Linked DNA regions of Homo sapiens: all the other regions are linked to region 4. Evidence: promoter capture Hi-C in 16 types of primary human blood cells and fetal thymus (Javierre and others, 2016). All regions are on one chromosome and are shown on one strand. Each heading gives the region's core, a stretch centred on a gene start or on the middle of the fragment in contact. The rest is flanking DNA. Distances are from core to core; before and after follow the strand shown.

Region 1 (5,222 bases), core at 1,878-4,377, 1.0 Mb after region 4:
ACTGCTAAAATATAAAACCCCATAAATGAGTTAAAGAGTAGATTAAACATAGTTGAAAAGAATAATGTAAGCTACATATGAAGAAATTATGCAGAATGCACCACAGAAGGTGAAAAAAGACAGAAAATAATAAACATTAAGAGATATGGAATATAGAGAATGTTAAGATATTACTCATCTCTAATTAGAATCCCAGAATGAGAGACCACAAAGAATGGAGTAAAGACAAGAGAAGACACAATAGCTAACACTGTTCCCAGATTAACATAGGACATGAATCTACAAAAAGAGGAAGTCCTGGCTATATACATGTATCAAGTAGGATACCTGAAAAGAAAATGAAATAGAGGCAGTACATATACATGTATCACATAAGATGCATGAAAAAAAGCAAACCAATATAAACTACAGTGAAATTTCAAAACACCAGGGGAAAGGCAATCTTAAAAGCATCGAAGGGGGGAATATTATTTACAAAAGAAAAACAAGTAGACTGAATAATTTTCAACAGCAATATGGCAGCCAGAAGAGAGTGGAATATCTTCAAAATGTTGAATGAAAATAGCTGTCAACCTATAATTTAGTGTCCAGAAACATTATATTTTGAGAACAAAAATGTAATTAAGACATTTTTAGATTAAAAACTATTCTTTTCACTGCCTTCACTAGATGAACTTCTGAAGTACACTTTCAGATGAAGGAAAGTGACCCAGTAGGAAATACTGGAATACAAGAAAAAATGGTGAACAAAGAAGCTGATTAACATTTGGGTTAATATAAAGAGGCCTGGTCTGTACAAAATAATATTAATAAATAATATGAAATTGTGAGGCTTAAAAGACACAGTTTAAATGCTAGAGAATAACTTACAAATCAGAAGGAGGATAATTAGAGTTAAATCATTCTAAGGTTTTTGTATTGTTCTGAGGAGTTTAATATATTAATTTTAAGTGTCCTTAAGAAAAATATTCACAATAAGATTTTAACAGAAATGATCCATATGGTACTTCACAACCTCAATTTTACAGGTAAACACACACACACACAAAGATAATAAATCATAGAGTTAGTATGTGATGAAGCTAGGATTTGAATTCAAGCAGAGAACGTGGTTTTGACCATTATGCTCTACAATATCTTAAAGACTCTAAAAGAACGGAAATGTGATGTAGAAATTCCAAACCAGTAGAGGAAGGGAGAAAGAATAAGAGGTAAACAAATATTAACAATCAATCTTCCTCTGTAAGCCACAAAAAAGCAAGAAAAAAGAAATGTAGAAGGAAAGGAGACACATAGATAGAAGGTAAAGACTGAGGAGAAAAACATTCAAGCATGTAAATAATCACAATATAAATGGACTAAACTTTCTAGTTAAAAGACAGAGTCAAGGCAGTTTTTAAAGATATAGCTATATGTTATTTACAAACATAAGAACGTGGAAAGCTTAAGATATATCAATTATATAATAATTAAAGCTGGTATAGCTATGTTGACATCACACGCAATGAGCTTCAAGATAAAAAAGCATTATTGTGGCTAGAAAAGGTCATCACATAATGATAAAATCTACAAGAGGAAATTGAAAAACTCATTATCATAGTGTAGCTATTTCAACACCCATTCAACCACTGTTAAGTTATTGATATCTCTCTATATCTATCTCTATCTCTCAATATATATATAGATTACTTATATAGAGACCTATATCTATCGATATATGTATATATCATATATATAATACATATGTGGCATATAGCAATTAGAGAATACACATACTCAACAAACCCATAAGAAATATTTGTAAAAATTAACCAGCATACCTTAATACATTTCTGAGAATTTGCATCATCTAGAAAAGGGGTTAAAAATCTTTTTATGTAAAGGACCTGATAACAAAAGCTAAGGTTTTGGAGGTCAGTGGTCTCTATTGCAACTACACAACTCTGCCACTGTGTAACTCAATAGCAGCCATAGACAATACATAAGCAAATGACCTTAACTATGTTCCAATTAATGTAAGACCCACTAAATTTGAATTTTATGTAATCTTTACAGACCTCAAAATATTATCCTTCTTTTGTGTTGTTTGACCATTTAAAATGTACCAACCATTCTTAGTTTGCCAGCTGTAGAAAAACAGGTGACAGGCCAAGTGTGGCCCATAGGGTGGTGATTCACTGACCTCTGATCTTGACTCATCTGTTTGTAAGGCAGTACAGTTAGAAATCAATAGCCGACTAATTTTTAAAACATTTAAGTTTAAAATGAAATTTTAATTAATTGTACTTTTTAATTTCTAAAGATTAATTTAAATGGGATTTAAAAACAGACTCCCCGCCCGGCATGCTGGCTCATGCCTGTAATCCCAGAACTTTGGGAGGCCACGGCGGGCAGATCACGAGGTCAAGAGTTCAAGACCAGCCTGACCAACATGGTGAAACCCCGTCTCTACTAAAAATACAAAAAAAATTACCCGGGTGTGGTGGCACATGCCTGTAATCCCAGCTACTCGGGGGCTGAGGCAGGAGAATCACTTGAACCCAGGAGGAGGAGGTTGCAATGAGCTGAAATCCCACCACTGCACTCCAGCCTGGGTGATAGAGCGAGACTCCATCTAAAAAAAAAAAAAAAAAAAAAAAAAAAAAACAGACTTCCCAATAATGTATGAATAGAAGAAGAAATCATAATAATAAAATTTATAAATATGTAAAACTGCAAGAAAGAGAAATAAATTCTAGTATATTCTGTTAACAAAATATTCTATAGCGGTGAACATGAGGAAGCAACCACTATGTTCCGCAGTATAGATTACTCTTAGAAACTTAGAGTTGAGTGAAAAAAGTCATAGAAGATTATGCATGATAAGATATCCTTTTTAGAGAGCTCAGAAAAGCATAACTAAATGATTTATTATTTAGGAGCAGCAGACATTTGTTAAAAATTTGTTTGTAAACAAAGGAATGTTTATCACAAAATTCAGAATAGTAGTTACCTCTGAAAGGCAGGAAAGGAATGAAATGAGGAAGCTAACACAGATAAGTTGCAATAGTATTGTAAGGTGAATCATCGGTGCTCATCTTAATTACTATTCTTGTCCCTCCTGGGAGAAAAATTGTGGAATTGCATACGGTAGGGAGGACCTTAATGCAGGGAGACAGCCATGGCTAGGGAAAGGCTAAAAGAGATGAGACAGAATGACGGAAGAAGGACAATGGAATTGTTGCTCTAATTTGTGGTGAAAGTGCTCCAGTCATATTCTCTTATTTACCTGGACTCAGGTCATCAGAATGTCTCATTCCCTATTATCTCTGACCTTTGAATGACTGATGAGCTCTGTAGATTTAAAACAAAAAAAAAAACTCCTTTCTGAACAAGAGCACAGGTATTCTGTTTCCAATTTTAAATGTGAAAGTTTGTTTTTATGGTTTTTATGAAAAGGTTGATTTCCTCCAGCAATTTTAATGTTCTGTATAACTAACAGAAATTTAATTTTTGAATTTGAGAGTTATTGATCCATTTACTAGTAACAGCTGAATGTTCCTTAAAATGCAAAAGAGACATTTGTTTTATCTTTTTGAGAGAATGGTGCTGTTTGTTCTGCAGAACTGGAAATTTGCCATTTATGAGCAGCACTTATCTCACTATTTACAGCTTTTTCTAATCAGATCTAGGCTTTTTATTTTCCTACTTGTGCCTAAGCAAAAAAAAAAAAAAAAAGAAAGAAAAAGAAAAGCAGATGAGAATGAAAAGGGAAGAAAATAAAATAACTGTGGGGGGGGGGAATCTTCAAAAAACTATCTGTTTAAAATTATAGTAGAGCTTTAAAGTGGAATTCTACTATACAATTGAAAAGAATGAGGTGGTGACATTAACTACTAGCTAGGATAGACAGCAAGATATATATTTATTAAGGTGGGGGGAGACAGCATGTTGCAATACATTATGTAGTATGAATTAACTTATATAAAAAAGAATAACAAATAAATATAAGCCAACATTCTACCAGTATTTTATGGGAGAGGGGTGACAGTGTAATAGGAGTCACTTTCACTATTTCAGTTAATTTATTTCTATAATTGAATTTTAAGCCATTTTTAATACTACAAAAAAGTATTATTTTGTGGCAGAGAAAATTTAACTTAGTAATATTTTATTATTCATTGTGGATTTTTCATGTTTCTCAATTCTTTACTCCTGCTAGAACTCGGGCAGATTTTTAAAACTCCCATCCCTAATGTCCAAAGTTGCATTTTTGTATCTTTAGGATTGCTGAGCTAGAATAATCCTTAGGCTATTTAACAATTCCCCCTGGGTAAGCTCATTGGCATTGCAAACACAGACACTGTTTCCTTTAGTTGGCACCCAAACTTTCTTCTTCCTTAACAGCAGAATCCTCAGCAGGGAAAATAAAACGAAAGAAAACTCCTATTACGAATTTGGAAAGTTTTAAAATGCAAATGCACATTTATCAATACCTATCTCACCGAGATCACTTGTGCTCAAGGTAATTCCAACAACCTTAAAGATCATTTTCCTGATCACAGCACAGAAATCCCAGTTTCGTTTTTGCTTTGGTTTTTTTAATCAAAAATTCATTGGTTGCTAAGAAATCCCAGTTTGGGCAAGGCAAGAGCAAATATATCCCACAGATTTTAAATGTAACTTCATCTTAAAGGACTCAGAAACACATCCACAACCCCCAACACACACACAGAGAAAGAAAGAGAGAATCTCTAAAGTGTGCTATAAACACTTGTTGGCTTTCCAAAAACATTAAGTTTCGTACCACTTTAATGAACACTTTTTAAATGCAAAGCTTTCAAAGTATTTTCTTCACTTTATTGTATGAAGGATGCATTTCTTTCCTTCCTCTCTTCTTTCCTTCCTTCATCCTTCCTTCCTTTCTTCCTTCCTTCCCTCCTTCCCTTTCTTTCTTTTCTTTCTTTCTTTCTTTCTCTCTCTCTCTCTCTTTCTTTCTTTCTTTCTTTCTTTCTTTCTTTCTTTCTTTCTTTCCTTCTTTCTCTCTTTCTCTCTCTCTCTTTCTTTCTTTCTTTGAGACAGAGTCTCACACTGCCACCCAGGCTGGAGTGCAGTGGCACAATCTTGGCTCACTACAACCTCCGCTTCCTGGGCTCAAGCGATTCTCCTGCCGCAGCCTCCCAAGTAACTGGGATTTCAAGCATGTGCCACCACACACGGCTAATTTTTGTATTTTTAGCAGA
Region 2 (4,944 bases), core at 1,918-4,417, 1.6 Mb after region 4:
TTCAATTTTTTTACCATGTGGCTATTCAGTGGTTCCAGCCCCTTTTGTTGAAAGCTTTCCTTTCTTCAGTGAATTGTCTTGGCACCTTGTTGAAAATCAATTGATCAATTAAATATAGTTCTATTTCTGGATTCTATTCTATTCTTTTGACCTATTTGTCTATCCTTATACCCTTACTATACTCTCTTGATTAGCTTCAAGAATTTTTATCATTTTTTAGTTCTGTTCCTTTCATCGTGGCTACTTTTGCCTCTTGACAATATTAGCTTAAGAGTTTATTTCAGAAGTTAGCACAGCTTTCAGGCTGCTGTGTATCTCAGAGTGTCTGTCTAAAAAATAGGAAAAATAAGAACTCCCTTATAGGGTTATTGGGAGAAATAAACAATCTAGTATACATGTTTAAAATGTATTATAACTCTAAAATAATCCTTAAGTGTTCAGAATATTGCTTATTTTTGTTTCACTTTTTGCTCTCTTGACCTTAAAACATATTCTTATGCAAGTTTACTGAAATCCCCCAGTAAGTTTCAGATTGTGGCAGGGCACCTGTTCTGTGGATTTAGGGAAAAACAAAGGCCCCAATATAATTGAGGGGAGTGACAGGCACCTGTTTTCTTCCTATTTACAGCAAGCCTTAACAGAAGGTGATGGCAATTCTTTCTGCCATTTTTACTTTGTCTGTTTTAAAAACAGACAAAGGTATTACTGGACTTCCAATGCTTTGCTCTTCCAGATATTTCTAATTTGATCCCCTGAACAGTCTGCTTTTTTTTTCTTTATTGTGGTAATTCCTTTTTCAGATGAATGACCTTTGCTCTCCTCACCCCAAATCAATGACCTTTTAAACTGTTTTAATATTTACTAGGGAATTACTTGTTCTGAGGCTTGGATTGAGTTTCTCTAAAAGATGGTATTCTAGAATTTAAATGGTGGTGAGAGGAAGGGTTGAAAAGCTGAATCCATTCTTTTACCCAGACGAAACTAAGCTGAATAACAACTCTCTCTCTTTCTCAATCATTTAAGAGCTTATAACAAAGATGAATATAAAGTGTCAATTATTTTACAACTTTTACCTGTTACCGCCCTAGTTCACACCCCAACTGTCATTCTTATTTCTAAATGGAAACTTTCCTTCCACAAGCTTAATGGCAACTTTTTACCTTTTTGGCCTTTGTGTTTACTAGATTGTAAAATCCTGGAGGACAGCTCTTTGACGTTATTTATCTTAGTTTTAGATTTTAGCATCAAACCAAGTACATTGCATTCATTTAATAAATGTTTATTCAATTAAACCAACTGCTAATATTCTACCCAATACAGTGTCATATATATATCCGTATGTATATATATAATATTGCCTGATACACACAAACACACACACACATATATATATGTATGTAACAGGCAATAATTGTTCGTGATTTAGTGATAGTAGGAACTCAGTATTTATTCATTGATCAATTAATAGTTTGAACACATTCTATATTTAGAGCATTAGATGAGTCAAGTGCTACTTTCTTTTTTAAAAAAATGTTAGAACCAGCTGGACGCAGTGGCTCACGCCTGTAATCCCAACACTTTGGGAGGCTGAGGCAGGTGGATCACGAGGTCAGGAGATCAAGACCATCCTGGCTAACACAGAGAAACCCCGTCTCTACTAAAAATACAAAAAATTAGCCAGGCGTGATGGCAGGTGCCTGTGATCCCAGCTACTTGGGATGCTGAGGCAGGATAACGGTGTGAACTCGGGAGGCGGAGCTTGCAGTGAGCTGAGATCGCGCCACTGCACTCCAGCCTGGGCTACACAGGCAGACTCCGTCTCAAAAAAAAAAAAAAAAAAATGTTAGAACCATTCAACTAGCATTCTGTAGACCAAATTATCTAAACAGTAGCTCTCCTCTTCCTTTTTCTGCCATGTTATCCATAAGATTTGGCCTGTATCACCTTATAATAAATGAAGAGAGTCTTAAATTCTTATAATACCAAACTCCTTTGGAGAGAATTCAGAATAGATTTATGTCATCTCAAATTCTATCCTATTCCAGTTAATGTTACAGACAGATTCTAGTATACTTTACAAAGATAGGTGAATAAGTAGAGTTTTGAAAAGATACAGACATAAAAGTGAAGAACAGATGCCTTCTGATGCTAGATTTTCCAAAACTCCTACTGTTATGCTTATATAGAAATCATTCTCAGACCTTCCTTGGATTAATTTCTGTTCCTAGAGCAAACTGGTAGTTATTTCTTTCTTTAATAGAACATGAACTTGTCCATCACATCCTAGAAAGTTAGTCCTAGGGATATCCTTTAAAGCCTAAAGGAGTAAATTAAGAGCAAAAAAAGGAAGTAGACCTTGCAACAGGTGGTGAGTGTCTGAGATATAGCACTAGGAGAGAAATAATATAGATTGAAAACAGAAATCCTTAAACATTTCTCATATAAACCCATGAAAGATAGATCCATAAATATTGTGGGGACTATGGGGACTAGGAAGCTTGGAAGTATCCCTAATCTAGATAGTGATGGTAGGCTAAATATCTACGGCTTCCGTAAACGTTCCTCTAAACCTCCCTGTAAAAAACACACTAAGCTGATTGTGTAATGAGCTGATCCAGTACAATTGCCTCCAATTTCATTCTGGACCCTGAACAGGAGGGGACATCGTGACAAAGCAAATTGTCTGGTATCATGAATTTGGAACACCGTAAGTGATCTTTACTGAGGGTTACATTCTGTCATTGTCAGCCTTTTAAGGAGGCCTTGCCACCAGCGCAGGGGAGGTGAAGTCTAAGGGAAGGTAATATTGTCAATGCCTGCTAATTAGTTCTACCCTGGAGATTTTAACTTTCTGCGAAGTTTTTAAAAACAACTTCCAAAACTCTGCTGATCCTGAAATGTTCGAGAATTCAGAGTTCCTAGACAATGGCTACTGTCCCCCTTCCCACTGATTAGGGGAGTTGGCATTTCAGGAACCAGAGTTTCTAAGGGCGCCAAATAGAAGGGCTCAAAGGGAATCAGCAGGCGATGGTTACTGTGGGCGGGTAAATCAGGTGATTTAGAGGAGGGGTTTGGCGAGGTTGGGGTCGGGCTTTAAACGTGGGAGGGCTAATTAACAGGAGATTAACTGGAGAGGGGCGGTGCCTGCGTCCGGCCCGCGCGGCCACAGTCCCTGCATTGCGCGCGACCCGGCGGCGGGACAGGCTTGCTGCTTCCTCCTCCTCGGCCTCACCGTGCGTACTGGGAGGGGAGAAGGGGACCGCATGCAAAGGGTGGCAGGCAGGGAGGGCCAGGGTGGGTGGCAGATGGAAGACTTGGGGGGGTCTCTGCCAGCTGGAAGTGCTTGGCTCCACTTAGCAGCTAAACTTAGCTTTTCAATCGATCGCTTTTGAAAGGGAATTGTATTTCTGTCCCCGTGCGGGTAAGTTTTCCCATTTCTCAAACTCCAGGAATGAAACGAGAGAGTCTTTTCATGCTTGAGTGATGATTTCCAAACTTAGCCTTTTCAAGTCAAAGTAACCTCCTGTTTGAAAGGGTCCCTTGAACTCTGGGGAAGGAGGAAAAGGCACGTGTAGTAATGGAGGAAATGCCTGTAGTTTGAACGACTGCTGTTCTCCCCAAGAGTGCAAAAGCCTGCGATGTCTCAGGTTTCATGGGCATAGTGGCCTTTATGCCTATTGTAAGGCAGGATTTGCTCTTCTGAGTTCACTTTGATAGGAGAAACATCAGCAAGTTTTAAAATAATACTAAATAATACTACTGCTAATAATGCTAGCTATCGAAACAAGAGGATGTGGGTTAGATGATAATATTTTTGTGTGATATTATAGCCAGTGACAAGAGAGCTAAGGGTGAGCCCCTTGGGACGGTTCTCACCTGTGCCCCACTTCCCCAGTCTGGAGGAGGAAGCCATGTGGAAGGAGAAAAGGAGAAGGGAACTCTCTTTTTCGGGAATTAAGGTGTCATATATTGCTCTAGCTGGCTTGGGACAGAGGAGAGAGGAGTGCATGTAAATCTTCTAGTCTCTCTGCTTCTCTTGAAATGTGGCAGTCTGAGCTCCACGTTTATATTCCCCTATTTCTTCTCCCTAATTTCTTACCCAGTGAGTGCTGAGTGGGTGCCCGCAAGCATTGCTGTATAGCACCCAGGCCTCCAGTGAGCAATCCTTAAAGCCCAGTTTTCCTGGGGTCCCAGCCTGCTGTGAGTCCCAGCCTACACCTACCTTTTGCATATGCTTTTCTTGGCCTTAGGATAGTACTGGACTTTGTTGTCCTCTGCTGTTTCCAAAATAAGAGGGCTATGTGTGCGATTATCTTTGGTAATTAAAAAAAAAAAAAAAAAAAAGGCAAATCAGTCCAAATTTGGATATTACCCTCTCTGGCAGACGAGTAAAATTTTTCTACCGCTTTGTTTTAGAGTGGTGTCTATGAATCCCTGAGATTGGAAAAGGAGGTCAGGTCAGCACAGAGAAAGGCCTTACCCCACCACTCTCCCGAGAGGCACCAGCATTTCACCTGCAGCCTCTGGGCTCTGAACCCCACTTTGCATGAGACCACATAGTGGGCTGAGTCTGCAGCCACCACGATGCCTTCAGGAAATGCTAGAATTCATCTAGAGTTCCAGATTAACGTATCCGCAACATGGCCACCGAATTATCTTTTTTCTTTATCTCATGTGTAGTGTTTGTTAGTTTTAGAAGGTACAAAATTGCAGAGTCATGGCCCTGGGGATGCGTGCCCAGATTATTCATGTGTTTCACAATATTGATGCAGAAAGGCTGGCCACCTCATCCTGAGAAGAGAACTTTGCTCATTTTGGCCAAAAGCCTGTAAAGGGAAAGGGCGTTCCTCAACTGAGAAGTGAAGATTCTTCTCTGCTAGATAGTACGGGGGTTTGGGGGGAGGGGTAGAAAACAGGAATGAGATTTGACAAGGAAAGGCCTCC
Region 3 (5,239 bases), core at 394-2,893, 1.1 Mb after region 4:
TGACTAAAACAAGCAAGCAGAGAAAAGCATCAGCCTTCCAGAGTTACTGTCTGCTTAAGGCAGAAACAGCAGTAAATAATGAGGAAAATGAATTAGCTCCAGTGCTGGAACAACTAACTAACTTGGTGTTACCTGTAAGTGAAAACTCAAGTGTCAGATGAAGGGAGGTGGAGTTATCCTCTTATAGTACAGTGGCCTGTTATCTTTTTAATGAATATATACAAGCCAACATCCAATTTCTATTATTACAATTAGGGTTCTTGTAGCTGTTTATGTTAATATGGAGAAGAAAACTATATTGGCTGATTTTTTCTGATCTTAAAGCAGAATGCCTTTTCTTTTTTTGCTTCAGTTGTAAAGAAGAGGGAATACATGATAAAGTAACTGGTTTGATTTCTCGTTCATTGTACACTGCCTCTGAACATCTAATTGTTTTTAGTTGTCTAAATAAAATGCCTCTAAAACAAAACAATGTTTGGTTTTTTTGGGGAAAAACTACTAATGTGAGTTTTATAAGTGGAAATAGCCAGAAGGTTTTTCTGTATCATAACCATAGCAAAAGGTAAGCCAATTAATCTGTAGTAAACATTATTTTATAATATTGAGATTCAGTTACTTGTCCTGAATTTTTGAAATTCTTATGTCCTTTACTAGTGTTTCATTTACCTTCTCTATTCCCAGATTGGATAGAAGTGCTTGACATGCCTTTTTAAACAATTATTTAAATAATACATGCTAGTTATAAGAAAAAAAAAATCAACTGAAATTTAGCAGTAAGCTGAAAGATCACTTAAAATCCTACCACTCCTCAAAAAACTATTAAAATCAAATGACCATGAATGCATGTTAGGGCATCTCTGTATGTATATACAGATAGATAGAATGGATTTTATAAAAATGGGATTACTATAGTCCTGCAGTGGTTTAAGAAGTATGGAATTTTACCTCATTCTTTAAATTTGGGTGGCATTCAGAAAGCCCTTCTAAAACCTTCTAATAAATTGGATCAGCTGAGTTTAGACTTGTAATTTATTTTTTAAAACAAAGAGGGCATATTAAATGAGTAATTTGGAAATACTTCAGATGAATAAATAACATCTCTGCAACTTCCTTTTTCTCCTGATCAGTCCTGTGAGTGACCCTTGATAACTTTTCTTAAAAGCAATATGAGTCAACCAAAGAATAAGATTAATTTTTGAGGATTTGTGATAACCAGAAGAAAGCACTGTAGGCTGTGACAACCTGTGAGGGCCGAGAGAAATACAGGGGAGCCAACTGGTGATCCATATTGGCTTTCATAGAGTGGTAGTATTTTTGTGTCAGCTTGTTACATGCCTGAACCTCTGGATTGCAGCAGTGTTGTCATTGTACCAGCAGTTGCTCAGACTCTAATCAGAGTCTGATTTACCCTCAATAAAGTTCTGTACGCATCAGATTGGAATCATGAAGTTGCTTGTTATTTATGAACCAAGGGAATTTCTCCTTAGGTTTCATAAAAGTCTAATGACCCTGTACAGGTACAGTCCTTTGTGTATTGGTTTCCTGCTGCTGCTGTAACAAGTGACCACAAATGTGTACCTTAAGACAACACAAATTTATTATCTTACGGTTAGGGAGGTCAGAAGTCCACAGTAGGTCTTGCTGGGCTTAAATTAAGGTGTCAGCAGAGCTGCAAGCCTTCTAGAGGCTCTACAGGACAATCTGTTCCCTTGCCTTTTCTAGCTTCTAGAAGCCAGCTGCATTCCCTGGCTCATGGTTCCTTCCTCTTTCTTTACGTCCAGCAGTGTCCGTTTTTTAATCTCTTATTCTGAATGTGACTCTATCTCCTGCTGCCTTCTTTTATTTATAAGGAGGTTTGTAATTATATCGGGCTCACCTGAATAATCCAGGATAATCTTTCCAATTCAAGATCTTCAATTTAATCACATCTGCAAAAGTCCCTTTTGCCATATAGGATGACATATTCACAGGTTCTGGGGATTGGGAAGTAGACATCTTTGTGGGGGCCATTAGTTATTAGTCTGCTTACCACACTTGGTAATGGTAGAATCCTACAGTAGAATTTAACAAAACTTTCAAGAGTAGTGGTCACTTTTCTGTTCTCATCTTAACTAAACCTTCAGCAGCATTCAATAATCATCCACTTCCTGGTTTTTGATTTTTTTTTTTAGCTTCTATGAAACTACACTCCTGGGTCTTTTTTTTTTTTTTTTTGAGATGGAGTCTCGCTCTGTCACCCAGGCTGGAGTGCAATGGTGCGATCTCAGCTTACTGCAACCTCTGCCTCCCAGGTTCAAGCGATTCTCCTGCCTCAGCCTCCTGAGTAGCTGGGACTACAGGCATACACCACCACGCCCAGCTAATTTTTGTATTTTTAGTAGAGACGGGGTTTTGCCATGTTGGCCAGGATGGTCTTGATCTCCTGACCTCGTGATCCACCCGCCTCGGCTTCCCGAAGTGCTGGGATTACAGATGTGAGCCACCGTGCCCGGCAGGGTCTTTTTATACCTTACTGACTCTTGTATTTGCCAGTTCCTCCTTTTTTTTCTTGACTTCAGATCTGGGCTGCACTTTCTAGCTCTGTTGTCTAAAGAAAAATATCTGCTGTTACTCAAGATCTTCTGATAGGTTCTACATCGTTGTTTATATGTTGTCTACCTGGTCTGCCTCTTTGAGCACCAGAGTTTGACAGCATAGTTGAGTGCTCCATCTTAACCTTTCATAAGACTCAGACTTACCTATCGTAAGTCTTGATTTTTTAAATCAAACCTGTTTCCCTCAACCTTTCCCCATTCCACTAACTGGTACTAACTTATACTTACTTGTTCAAACTAAAAGACATGTAAATCCTTGACTGTGTTCTCTCTCATGCCCATGTCTATATGCAAGTCCTGTGGGCTCTTCGAAGCTGTGCTTTGCCTCCTCTCCATTGTTACCACCCTAGGCAGGCTACCTTTATTTCTCAGTTCCTTCATAACTGCTCCCTCTTGCCCCTACTCATTCGTCTGGCTCTTATCCCATCCATACTCCATACAGTAGGAAAGGTAATTGCTTTAGGATTTGAAGAGATGAGGTGATTTCCTTGTTAAGATCTGTAATGGCTTCCCATTATATGAAATTCTTATGATTAGTTGGCTCTTGATACCTTTTGTGACTTTTTCATATTTCCCTTGCTTGCCCTGCTCTAGCCACAGTGGCCTCATTTCTGTCTCAAGTCCTTTTCACTTGATATTTCTGCTACTTGGTTCACTCTTACCTAATGTTTTGCTTGGCTGGATCCTTTCTTTGCATTCAGTTCTCCAGCTGGTCTGTATTCCATCTCTTGTCACTTCTTACTGAGTCCTATTTTATTCATACTTGTTAACGCTATTTGAAATTTTGTTGCATGTTTTTCAGCTTCATTGATAGTCTCCCTTTACCTGGAAAGGTGACTGGTATGTTGTGAGTGCTCAATAGTTGTTGAAACAAGTCCCTCACCAAATCTTTTTAATCTCTCCCAGTAATCCATGTCAGACCAGGAAGACTGTTTTCCAGTTATCTCATATGTAGCAGGCCATCCTCCACTGAAGAGTGAGACATGGCAGGCATGGCAGACATGGCAAGACAAAGCTCTTACCTCTCCAGTGAACCCGTGTACAGCTTCAGCCGGTGTGAGACTGAAGTTACCCAGGAAGAATCCAGCTTTCACTTGCCTTCTCATCCAATTCATCCCCTGGAGTCTCCTCTCTAGGTCCTAATTTCCAGTAGGTCATGGTATCCCAAGTTCCCACCTAATATTAGTAATTTACCTTTTTATGAATCAATTACTTCTCTATTTTAGTGTCATCCAGAGTTTTCTTCCAGGAAGCCAGGATTGAGTGTGGTCATTCAATTCTCTTCAGAATATTTTTCATGTCAGTAAAGTTCAACACATTCTTTATAACGTCTACAAAATAGCATAGATGCACCAAATAGCATATAGATGCACCATAATTTATAACAAATTATAGATTACATTTTTTAGTAGTTGCTCAAATTCCATGGAAGTATTTAGCTGCCTTTTCTTTGAGACCAAGGTTGGGGAAAAATGGATGCAATTTTTCAGAAGGGAGCAACAACAAGATGCATTGAAAAAGCAGACCAATGGAAAATATTTCTCAACTAGCTACCTTGCTTATGCTTTACACCTAGGGGATTAACAACTTAAAAAGAGGTTCTTATTAGGTTACTATATGTTACTGTGCATGTCTGTCTGCTACACTGGGGGGTTACCCATGAAAACATTGTTAAAGCAAGAACATTCTCAGATAAGAGGGGGCCTAGCTTTTCATTGGTTATCTATTTAATATAGAAATGCTTAATTGCAAGTGTGCTATAGTGTCACTTAGACTGAGGTGACTAGATCAGTAGAGTTCTCGGAGGCATCTAACAAATTTACCTTTGGAAACAAGGCCCAAGTATGCGTCTAAATGATAGCTAATGAACAATAATAATACTTTATAGATTGAATCACTTTAATGAGAGAATAGAACATGGTCAAGTGGAAGGTAACTGATTTTAGTTTAAGGACGAGTATGGAAATGATATAAGTGCCTTACGTTAGGTTTTAATGTTAACACGTGTGTCACTTTTTAATCTCTCCCAGTAATCCAATGAGATAGGTAATTGTCTCCGTTGCATATATGGAAAACCTGAATTTCAGAGAGGTTTAATGGTTTGTCTAATAAGTTTAGCTTCCAAGAGATAGTAGGGAATAGTGTGTAGTCTAAGGTTATATATTGTTATATGATTATATATTGCCAGGTTTTAAGCAATCGTCTAGCACTTACAGGCAAATCTCTCTTAGCCTCAGTTTATCTGTACAGGGAGAAAAGAGTTCTCACAGATTTTTTTCAGGAAAAATCTCATAAATATGAAATACCAAATACTTTATGGAAAGGACTTAATTCACAGGAAGCACTTAATATTAGCGAGTATTATATATTGTATCAGTGATTCCCAAGCTTTAGGATTCTGTGGCCAATAGACTTCAAAATGGGGGAGAGGAGATGGAATGGTCGGCTTCTAGCCAACTGAGGCTATTAAAAAAGAAAAAATAATTATCTAACGCCACGATCTTTATAAAACGACATTTTAAAATTCAAATTGGTAGTGAACAACGTAGTCTCAGAATGAAGGAGTGTTCTTTAAATTGAATAAATTTAGCTTCATAAAACACTCAGTATAATTCTTATTTTTTTTTTATTTTACCATGAACTAG
Region 4 (5,030 bases), core at 1,726-4,225:
TTCCTTGTTCTGTCCCTCCCTCCTTCTGTTTTTTCAAACGGAATTCCTGACTTACTATGAAACTCTATAAAAACCTGAAAAGCTTTACATCCGAGATTTCAAAGCAATTACTTAAAATTTAAAATTTTTCACACGTGGGTCTTCTGAAGACATAGTAGGGGGAGAGGACTTTTTTCTCTTTTACGGCCCTGCAGATAATTAAAATTCTTTCAATTGAAAAAAGAAAGTGCAGCTTCCCGTCCCCCACCTACACTCCACCCCCACCTCCCCCCGACCCCCGCCATTCCCCTTTCAGCTGCTTCTGCGCAATTTGCAGGTTTTCCTGCCCTGCAAGAGCCTGTGTGCTTTTCAACCAAGTAACTTCCTGTGGTTATTTAGTTGAAATATTGTCAATGTCTTATGTCATTCAAATCTCAGGTTCTCATCTCACATTTTCCACTTAAAAATTCAAAGTTCTTGTAAAACAATGGATGCCACAATCATGACTTGGAATAATGATTTCTACTGCAAATCCCCTCAGGAGGTTCTGAATCCCTTCCTTTCTCAAGAGAATCCCTGAACAAAAACGAAAGTTTCTGTAAGGTGTCACCGCTCTTCAAAGGTGTCAGGACCCTGTCTTCTCTAAAGGTTTTACTGTGTTAAAAAGCAGCTGTTATTTAGAGGATGAGTCATAAGTCTTTCCCAGGTAGTTAATTAGGATTCTGAGCAATGAATTTTAGTAAGTGGGGCTTCTTTGTCCCTGGTCTTGAAGATAAGCCTTTACAGCAGGAAGACTTTATGGTAAAATTTTGTTATATTTATAAATGCCTATAGTTTACATTTGTTTCAATCCATGCCCATCTTCATAACCCAAAAGGTATTTATTTTTCTTTTACTTTTTGTTAAAGATAAAAGAGTTGGAACACTGTCTTGAATGGCTGGAAAAAGTCCTGAATGGTCGAACTTCACTCATGATTTTAATATTTGACTCAGAGGGAAGAGGAAAAGTCTATCAGATCTTGAAGAGATAAGAATTATTGTAATGGGGCCGGGCGCGGTGGCTCACGCCTGTAATCCCAGCGCTCTGGGAGGCCGAGGAGGGCGGATTACGAGGTCAGGAGATCGAGACCATCCTGACTAACATGGTGAAACCCCATCTCTACTAAAAATACATAAAAATTAGCCGGGCGTGGTGGCGGGCGCCTGTAGTCCCAGCTACTCGGGAGGCTGAGGCAGGAGAATGGCGTGAACCCGGGAGACGGAGCTTGCAGTGAGCCGAGATCGCGCCACTGCACTCCAGCCTGGGCGACAGAGCGAGACTCCGTCTCAAAAAAAAAAAAAAAAAATTATTGTAATGGTAAAATCGGTTGACTTACTTATAGTTAAGCTTTCTAAGAAATCAAGACTAGAACATTTTCAAATTAGAAATCTCTTGCTTATTGGAATAAAAGAAAAAAAATCGTGTCTAAAATAGTAATACTTTTAAAAACTCTTGAAAATTCCCCAAGATACAGGCAAAAATTTAAGCTAGTTTACAGAACTCATTCCAGGAACATCTCGTTAAAAACTGCATCAGAGATTTGTATGCCCATTTATTTGGTATATCTAAGAGTTATTGGATGCTTACTAACGTATTTAATTTTCAAAACACTTTGATACAGGTAGAGGAGTCAAATAACTTATCAAAGGTCACTGCTCAGTGGTAAAGCCAGGATTTAGGCTGAGGCAGACTGGCTCCGGAAAGACCGCCTAAACCATGACAATAGCTCTGAAGACATTTATTGAGTCCCCAGTATGGGTTCATCATTGTTCTAGGCAGTAATGACATATACATAAATATTTGAAAATGTTATTTCAATGAAGTCAAATCTTTATTCGGATAGTGAGAAGGTAAATTTGCTTTACTTTAAATGTAAATGAATCCACATAAAATGTTTATTTTAAAAAGCAAGCGTTCAACATTACATCACGTATCGGTGTTAACTGTGTTACTGAAAATGTTCAGGTAAAAATGAAATGACCTCGATGAATTAGGAGAAAGTAATTTTTAATTAAAACAAAACACTTGAAACACTCTTTTTGTTTCAAAAAGCATGGGTCCACAATTCAGGTATATAAGAATAAGCTGCCATTCTGACTTTAGTCTCTGGACTCATTTACAAAGAGACCCGGGGGACCTCCACGTCTTCGCAGAGGACCCGATCCGCTGATCTGTGGCGCCCTGGCTTGCGGGGAGCAAGCCAAGGCCAAGACTTTGGCCTCTCCAATAAAACCTAGTGGCTCTTTGCAGGCCCATAGCCTCAAAGACAAAAGATATTTTGGCTAGGCGAGCTTGTTCCTCCCGTCAGCACAGGAAGCATTCACGTCTGGTCATCACTCTAGCTTCAGACTCAAAAGTGAACGATTGGCTGGCTGTGAGCCGCAGGACCCTGCGGGGAGACCAGGGTGGTCTCTACACTGTTGGGTAGCTAGCTGGAGGCAAGGCGCTTGTATAAGAAACAGTCCACGGACCCTGTCCTGGGCAGGCAGAATTCCGCGGACAGGCTGTTGTTTCGCCTAAGCAGCACGGGCTGCGGAGACAGAAACCTACCTGAGTAGTACGGTGTATTATATGAGAACATCCACTTAGCATAGCAACGTCTACGGACAACCCCTGTAGCTCTTCTTCTGGATTGTTTTCTGTTTCCAACCATGTTTTCTTATTTCCTACGAGTTTATGTGCTTGGAAGCGAGCGTGGTCGTGGAAAACCCGTAACCGCTAAATTCATCTGGGTCCCCAAAGACTGAGCCGGCTGGCCTCGTTATTTATGTGAGCGGCTATGTAAATGAGGATTCGGAGATTGCTCTATTGATTGGAGAGAGCTGGAGGAGGCGGTCTCTCTTCCAGAGCGCTAGTTGGGAGCGGAGCCTGCCTGTCATTGGTCACCAGAGCCAATGGAAAGGGGCTGCCGCGCGGCCGTAAAGAGTTTGTAGAGGCAGTTCGGGTGCGGTACGTTGCATTCCGGTACCGGACGCCGAGAGCGGTTTGTCTCCGTCTCTGGAGTTGTAGGCGAGAGGTGATCATGTCCGGTCGCGGGAAACAGGGCGGCAAAGTGCGAGCAAAGGCCAAATCCCGCTCCTCCCGCGCGGGCCTGCAGTTCCCGGTGGGCCGAGTGCACAGACTGCTGCGCAAAGGGAACTACGCGGAGCGAGTGGGCGCCGGGGCGCCGGTGTACCTGGCGGCGGTGTTGGAGTACCTTACGGCGGAGATCCTGGAGCTGGCTGGCAACGCCGCGCGTGACAACAAGAAGACCAGGATAATTCCCCGCCACCTGCAGCTCGCCATCCGCAACGACGAGGAGTTAAACAAGCTGCTGGGCAAAGTGACCATCGCTCAGGGCGGCGTCCTGCCCAACATCCAGGCCGTGCTGCTGCCCAAGAAGACGGAGAGTCAGAAGACGAAGAGCAAATGACCCTGACGCCGCCCTCAGGGAGCTGGCTCCCCCAGCAAAGGCCCTTTTCATGGTCGTCCCGCAATGCTTTTGAATGTGCTGGATGTCATGGAGGGCCGGTGACATCTAGCGGGGAGGTGGGCGGCGAGGGTCCCGGCGGGAGCCAATAAAGTTGGTGAAAATCGTTTGGTCGAGAGAGCTGTGTAGTCGCGGGGACATGTCGGATGGCCCCAGGGGAGGGGGGCGACCGGGAAACCCCTGGAGCAGGCACTGGTGGGTGGGCTTGAGCCACTCTGGACGGCTTTAGTCCGCAGGTCACCCTCGAGGCGTCAGGGGAGGGTGGCCTGGAGGTGGGCAGGGTGGAAGCCACCTCGCTGTCAGTAGGGCAAAGGGGAGGCAGAGTCGGTGCGGTGAGGCCTCCTTCGGAATTATTTTTACTTCCCTTTCACAGAGCCTTCGCTCTCCTGCCAGTTTGTGAGCACTCAGGACCAAGTTCTGGGAAGATACCGTCGGATCGAGCTGAGCTCGGGGCAGGAAGTGTCTGCGGCCATATTTTTCAAAAAGTGGAGTAACTTTCCGTCTTGGAAGGGTGGCTCTGATGGCACGATGTCAACTTGAGATTCTTCCTAGCCTAGTAGCTGCTGTGCTTTCATGCTTTGGATATCAGATATCTTTATATAGCACTTTTATGTTCATATTTTTTTTTTAATGAAGGAAACGTTCAATAAGTGAGTCATGAGGTTGGAAATTCGTTCCCCTGACAGTCATATTGCATAACATTGCAGCGCCTTTAGTCGTGGGTTACATATGCTTGAGCTTTTAAAGTGATGTTGTCAAGTTTCTAGCTTCATAATGATCCTGTCTTCATCATATCATATTCACTTTGAGAATCGGTTTGACTTTGCTTTCAAACAAAACAAAAACCTCTTGCTTTTAGGGGTTCTTACCCAACAAATAACCTGTTTGAACTCTCTTATATTCTCCCACTAGCCTGAAGCAATGACCTCATTCCAGTAATGTCTTTGGGAGTTGCATTGCCTAATGGCACAATATTGCTTTAATAAACATGTAAGGAAAGATAGGACCAAATATGTAAGTGCAGGGGGAAACACATTTCAGACCAGGAATCCACATTGAAAAGTTAACACTAGTAATCATCTTCTGCCCTTAATTGACACTCCTATTTATTTCATCCTCAGCAAATTTCATCCTGGCTCACAGACCCCACAAAAAAGATCCCAGTACAGATTTCACATCTTTGGATTCATCTTTCCTGTGAGTCGGAATTGAAGTCTTCCCCAAAAATATATGTATATATTGTATGTCTTCATCCTTGGTAGCGGCTGGCCCATTTTCCCACATGGACTTTATTTTGTCCCCAGTATTTATTGAACAGCTGTCTATGCCAGGCTCTGTACAAAGTGATAGGAGTAGAGCTGTGAATGAGGCCAACCAGATTTCCACTCTCTCGGAGCTCACTTTATTTTTATTGGTTCCTGAAGACGGGACAAGGAACAAATACATACGTTAATATGAGAGATCAGCTTCTGTTAGTACTTGTACCTCTCTGCTGTGTGTGGATGAATGATGGAATTACTTCTCCCATGTTGCCATTTTTGA

What was found. The method cuts DNA at HindIII sites, captures the fragments that hold promoters and counts their contacts. A CHiCAGO score of 5 or more calls a contact.
Region 1: a fragment that was not itself captured here is called in contact with the fragment with the promoter of H2AJ in region 4 in 1 of 17 cell types (fetal thymus); the score reaches 5.7 in fetal thymus.
Region 2: the fragment with the promoter of MGST1 here is called in contact with the fragment with the promoter of H2AJ in region 4 in 1 of 17 cell types (M0 macrophages); the score reaches 6.3 in M0 macrophages.
Region 3: a contact is called between a fragment that was not itself captured here and the fragment with the promoter of H2AJ in region 4, in 6 of 17 cell types (total CD4 T cells, erythroblasts, naive CD4 T cells and 3 more). The highest score is 7.4, in total CD4 T cells.

The regions. Positions count from the first base shown.
Region 1 is chr12:15,794,754-15,799,975 of GRCh38, forward strand. No RefSeq gene overlaps it. Among named protein-coding and RNA genes, the nearest start is that of EPS8, 8.0 kb to the left of the region's middle. The HindIII fragment of the contact is 3,373 bases long and covers 1,442-4,814 here.
Region 2 is chr12:16,344,478-16,349,421 of GRCh38, forward strand. It overlaps MGST1 (microsomal glutathione S-transferase 1), which reads left to right and starts at 3,168. Exons shown (of 4, transcript NM_020300.5): 1 at 3,168-3,233. RefSeq lists enhancers at 2,258-3,187, 4,118-4,944. The HindIII fragment of the contact is 2,670 bases long and covers 2,496-4,944 here.
Region 3 is chr12:15,903,010-15,908,248 of GRCh38, forward strand. STRAP (serine/threonine kinase receptor associated protein) reads left to right here. Exons shown (of 10, transcript NM_007178.4): 10 at 1-469. Among named protein-coding and RNA genes, the nearest start is that of DERA, 5.7 kb to the right of the region's middle. The HindIII fragment of the contact is 6,674 bases long and covers 1-4,980 here.
Region 4 is chr12:14,771,430-14,776,459 of GRCh38, forward strand. It overlaps H2AJ (H2A.J histone), which reads left to right and starts at 2,976. Exons shown (of 1, transcript NM_177925.5): 1 at 2,976-3,595. The coding sequence starts at 3,042. The coding sequence ends at 3,431. RefSeq lists enhancers at 2,396-3,313, 2,527-2,736, 2,927-3,256, 3,267-3,426, 3,314-4,230 and 1 more. The HindIII fragment of the contact is 5,193 bases long and covers 1,365-5,030 here.